2 separate regions of the Homo sapiens genome follow, and region 2 is linked to region 1. The links are contacts of gene promoters, found by promoter capture Hi-C in human tissues and cell types (Jung and others, 2019). All regions are on one chromosome and are shown on one strand. Each heading gives the region's core, a stretch centred on a gene start or on the middle of the fragment in contact. The rest is flanking DNA. Distances are from core to core; before and after follow the strand shown.

What was found. Contacts are between HindIII fragments. The study calls those that stand out against the background at their distance.
Region 2: a contact is called between a fragment that was not itself captured here and the fragment with the promoter of CCDC122 in region 1, in 2 of the 25 tissues and cell types used here (dorsolateral prefrontal cortex and lymphoblastoid cells).

The regions. Positions count from the first base shown.
Region 1 is chr13:43,878,371-43,881,133 of GRCh38, reverse strand. CCDC122 (coiled-coil domain containing 122) reads left to right here and starts at 1,394. Exons shown (of 7, transcript NM_144974.5): 1 at 1,394-1,503. It overlaps LACC1 (laccase domain containing 1), which reads right to left and starts at 1,230. Exons shown (of 7, transcript NM_153218.4): 1 at 1,015-1,230; 2 at 1-182. The coding sequence starts at 148. RefSeq lists a silencer at 1,343-1,492. The HindIII fragment of the contact is 6,836 bases long and covers 1-2,763 here.
Region 2 is chr13:42,863,551-42,866,326 of GRCh38, reverse strand. All of the region lies in intron 2 of LINC00428 (long intergenic non-protein coding RNA 428), which reads left to right. Among named protein-coding and RNA genes, the nearest start is that of LINC00428, 7.8 kb to the left of the region's middle. The HindIII fragment of the contact is 5,174 bases long and covers 1-2,776 here.

The sequences.
Region 1 (2,763 bases), core at 145-2,644:
TGTTACTGCAACACATTATACAGAGAAACTTGGCCTTGGCAGCATGGTGGTATTGGACAGCATTCAAAGTCTTCAGTAATGTCTGATGGCAGTTTTTTTGAGAGTTCAATTTCAAACCAAAAAGATCAATCAAAACAGCTTCTGCCATCCTTGAAAGAATACTTTTATGCCAAATAAATCACCTGCAAATAAAAATTAGTGTAAGAATATAAGATTATATAAATCTTATAGTTACAACAGAAATTTGTGGTAGATTAAAAACGAAGTAATTACACTGATTTTAAAATGTAACTAAAATAGTAAATCTAGGCCCCTCCCAGAAAAGCCAGTCTACTCTGTCACAACAGAACCATGACAGTGAAAGCAAAGCCATCTTTTAATTCGTTTTGTGAAAATGCTGGTACATCTTTCCAGCAGCACGACAGTTCCTCTGTTTTGTTTACACAGAACTTTTGAGTAAGGAATTACTTGTGGAGTTTAGACAAAGTCCTGTTTTTAAATTGCAGAGTGTCAACCTGTGTGATATATCATTAGTCCTGACATGATTGTCATATTAGGTCTCATCCTTTCATATGCGGGGGCTTAAGTTTACGAAGCTAAATGGAGCTGCACGCGAAATTCGCGTTTTAAGATGATAAAAGCTGAGATGGCTAATAGAGTTCCCTTCAGGATTTGCGCAGTACTCCACACTTAGCAATGACCACAAAAGCTATAGTGATTTGGATGAGACAGGCTTCCTCTCAACTTTCTTAATTCATTCTCCCCGTGCAGCTTTGCTCACCTCCAGCCCAGCCCTCCCACCCCAACCTGCGGGGCTCCGGTGACCCCCTTTGGTGACGCCCTTTGCCCCAAGAAGGTTTTCTCCTGCCGCTTCCCCTAACCTTTGCTCCCCATCTCTCGGGGCTCCCTCTGAGGTTCATTTAGCCAGTTTTGAGTGGGTGACCGTCCCCCCTTCCCTGTTCATTGTGAATTTCCGCCCAACGTGTGTCGCCGCCAGGTCCCTGTTCCTCCTACCCGCCTCGGCTCACGGGGCGCAGGCTGTGGCTCTGCACCTGCCCGGGCACCTCCACCGGCGGCTCACAGCCCATTCGGGACTTCCTGTCGGACAACGCACACCAGAGGCGATTCGGTCCTCGCCTTCCCGCTCTTCACCTTCGGTTGCACACCGGTCTACGGCGACCTCTGTGACAATTTGCCGCCCCGTCCCTCGTCCTGAGCCTCAACGAAATTGGGCAGCCGCGAGCGGGTCAGCTGGAGTCGTAAGCTCGGCCCAGCGCGACGACACCCGCCCCGCCTCACCTCGCCCACCTCGCCCACCTCGCCCCGCCTCGCCTCGCCCCGCCTCGCCCCGCCTCACCTCGCCCCCCTCGCCCACCTCGCCCCGCCTCACCTCACCTACCTCGCCGCGGCCGCACAGATTCCCCGCCTGATACCGTCCCAGGATCCCAGGGGAAACCTGACGGCCAGGTTCCCTCGTGCCAGCTGCCGGGAGGCGGGAGGGAGGTAGGCCAGGGCCGCCTGGCGTGCTTGGTGCGAACGCGGCGGGCCCAGCGCGAGAGCTGGGGAATCCCGGGATGAGCCAAGCGCCGCGAGCCCGCTGCTGCCTCAGCAGTTCCGGGTCTGGGCGGTCCGCGGAGTCGGCATCCCGCAGCCCCGGCGGCGTTAGAGGAACAGGAACCAGAGCCGCGCGAGGGCTCTCGCCCGGGAGCCAGGCGGGTTAGCGGGCAGGAGTGGGCAGGCCGAGTCCGGAAAGGGTCGCGAGGAGGCAGCTAGGGGCCCCTTGAGGAGGGATAGGGCGGCGGAACGACGGGCCCTGGGAGCGGGCGCAGGGCGGCAGGAGCTGCAGGTCTCCAGAGGGCACGGGGCGGGGAACTAGGGGCCCGGTTAGAAAGCCGGGCGGCGGGAACGGCGGGCACCGTGAGGGGGCGGCGGGAATGGTGGGTCGCGTGAGGCCGGGCTGCTGGAGCGACCTCGGGACTAAACCGCAGTCTCCCTTCTGCTAATGGAAGCCGTTTCCCAAGCGAGCTGAAGTCCGCGTTTCCGGTCTCTGAGGGACGCCTCGCTGACCCAGCAGTGTGGTCAGGACGCTGGGTTTCCTCACCGCAGCCCAGGGCCAGTCCCTTGTCATGCTAGCTCTTGGCAGCTTTTCCCATGCAGGGCTCAAGTCAGGGGCCCCCTCGAGATGTTTTAGTGTTTTTTTGTTGTTCATTTGTTTCCAGAAACAAGCTGTTGTCTCTCCTCCAATGTCTTTGTGCTGATTCTTGCTGACCAACACTCTTCCGAGCGCCTTCACTTGTGTTGACAACACGGATGTCCTCTATGGCCTTTTAAAATATGTGCCACTAGCAGGACTTAAGTAAAAGGCGCTCATCCCTAAAATCATGATAAAGGTGCAGTTTAGCATCCCTGATCTGTCCTCCAAGAATATAACGTTCATTTATTTGAAAATAGCAGTTAGGACATGGAAGGCCAGTGTATGGTAAAGGGAAAAAATATCCGACCTTCCAAGAGTAAGAGAAATGGTGCTTCCTGGGGAACTGGTTATGATGGAAGGAGAGGTCCCTTTTATCTTCATTGTTGCTCATTTGGTAGGCGCTAAAGAACCTTTGTCTCATAATCTCAGATAGCTGGGAATTTGGAAGAGCCCTCTGGGGTAGGCATGTTCTTGTGCTTGACTAGAGACTGGGAGCACTAACCCAGAATGGAAACCCACCCTTCAATAACCCTAGCACCAGTTATGTCAAAATTCATGTTTTCTTTGGT
Region 2 (2,776 bases), core at 140-2,639, 1.0 Mb after region 1:
CTTTATTCTAGCAGCTGATTAGATGGTGCCCACCCAGACTGCAGGTGGGTCTGCCTCTCCCAGTCCACTGACTCAAATGTTAATCTCCTTTGACAACACCCTCCCAGACACACCCAGGAACAATACCTTGCATCTTTCAATTCAATCAAGTTGACACTCAATCTTAACCATCACAGCCTATGATTCAGCCTCAACAGAGAGCAACCACATGGCCAGCTCTAGACAAAGTGGGGGCCAGACCTTTATATCTCCTTATAAACCAGTTCTTGGCTGTGGGCACCCTGGGAAGAGGGCATGGTGGTGGGTGAGATGACACTCTTCATTTGAAGCAATTCCGATGAGGGCTGACAGCTGGGGATCTCTGCCAGAAGCCCTCGCTGCAGCTGGTGGAGTAGCCCTTCAGTCTTGAGGAGACTCTGGGATGACATCACAGCATCTGCTCCAGAAGTCTGCTGAACCCATCCTGGCTAACTGTAATGCAACTATTAACCATAATACTTTCCTTTAAAAATCTCAGACAAATGCTGAAAGAGATAAGATACTGAGACAGGAAGTGTAAGCTGGGACTGTCCTAAGCGAATCAGGAAAAAGTTATCCTGTCTATAATGAAGTTCAGGGAGAAAGAACAGCTTACATTAACAGCCTTGAAGGTAAGTTGCTGGTCCAGAAACCTTTTGAGTTAATTTACTTGGTTTCACTTGGGTTTCACCCAGATGCAAAAGGATTTAAGTCGATTATTTAATCCATTATTTTCTGTGGTGTAGCATGGCAGTGCTTTTGCATGTTGCAGCGTTTTCTTTCATTTTCAGCAGCCCCTCCTCTCCATTTAATCACTGTGTCTGCTGCCCTGTCCTAATCGCTCAGCAGACACCCCCCTGGCATCCCAGACACTCTGGCTGCGTGTCCCGTGCATGATTATTTGGCCCTCACCCTGTACTCCACTTCACACTCCCTTAGGCTATGAGCAGAGGATTTTTGTCACAATTGTAAAACATAGAAACTCATCTCCACCAATCCTTTCAAAGAGCCCAGGGAGTCTGAGCTGTTCCAAATGAGAAGCTTCTGCTACAAGAGCATGGCCAGAGACTCTGGCTACCAGAGGGAGGCTGGTGCATTTCATTTCATTGTGAACTCCAACCAGGGTGTCTCGAAGGTTAAAATACCTTTACTTAGCGCTCAATCACTGTCGCACCTGGTACACAGTGCTGTAAAATTAGGAGGGAAGAAGAGAGCAGGAGAAGCCCTGGATTCAACATCAGGAGACCTGGGGTCCAGCCCTTCCCAGCCTCTGGCACTCAGGTTCTCCATGGATCAGGTCTTATTCAGGTTATCATTCCCACCGCCTAGGAAAGTGTCTGGTTGAGTGGGTGCTAAGAAAAAATGTTTTCCTTTCTCCCTGGACATAGCTTGCATAAGGAATGAAGACAATGAGTGTGTGTAGGGGGAAAACGCTAAGGAGCTAGAAAAGTTTTTCATTCCATGGTGCAGTGTTCCTTTCTCTAGCCCCACCACCGAAAGCACAAGACCCTTTCCCTGACTTTATATCTTACCACACAGTTCAGCAACCCAGTGAAAAGATCCTTATTAAAATTTTATTTATTAATTTTTTTTAAGAATAGAGACAGGATCTCACTATATTGCCCAGGTTGGTCTTAAACTCTTAGCCTCAAGTGATCGTCCCACCTCGGCTTCCCAAAGTGCTGGGATTACAGGTGTGAGGCCACTGAGCCTGGCCAAGTGAAAAGATCTTAACGCTCCCAACATCACATAACTCTCCTGGGAGATGGTGGTGGGAGGATTTTATATGGACTTGTTTGGATATGTGTTCACCCTTGGACCAAACCTTATGTCCAGGATTGCAGAGTACTGTGATTAGGCAGACCTAAATACTGTACTGTTTTTTTTTTTTTTTTTTTTTTTTGAGACGGAGTCTCGCTCTCTCTCCCAGTCTGGAGTGCAGTGGTGCGATCTCGGCTCACTGCAAGCTCTGCCTCCCGGGTTCACGCCATTCTCCTGCCTCAGCCTCCCGAGTAGCTGGGACTACAGGCACCGGCCACCACGCCCAGCTAATTTTTTGTATTTTTAGTAGAGACCAGGTTTCACCGTGTTAGCCAGGATGGTCTCGGTCTCCCGACCTCGTGATCCACCTGCCTCCGCCTCCCAAAGTGCTGGGATTACAGGCATGAGCCACCGCGCCCGGCTGATACTGCAGTTTTTTTTGTTGTTGTTTTGTTTTTTCTTTACTATTCTCTACTTCTTGCTATATTCTGTTGAATACATGTCGAATTTTTTCTTCTATTCTTCCCCTTCCTTAATCCCCCTTGCCTATTTCATATTTCTTTGTATTGGATTGTACTGCATTTTGTGTTACTTCCTCAAATATATCTTGTAGTTTACTAATTCTCTCTAGAGCTGGTTTTCATTTGCTACTTAACCTACTCATTGAGTTTTTACATTTTAATAAAGTTTTAATGTTAATTACCTACAGTCACGTGTTTTGTTTTTATTTTTGACTTGCCTCTCCTTTATTCATAGCCCAGCTCTTTCATTTTAGTTTCCGTACTTATTTTATAATCTCTTTCGATTGTTTTATCAGCTACTTTGGAAATCAGTGTTGCGCCTCCTGATTGATGTGTCTGCTGATTTTCCTTCAGGTGGTTTCATTTCTTGTGTTGTTTGTAGTTTTTACTGTTAGCTCCTGCTAAACTGGGGTTGTTTTTCTATGTAAATCATGCCCCCGCCATGGCTCAATTTTGCATTTACTTTTGCAAGTAAA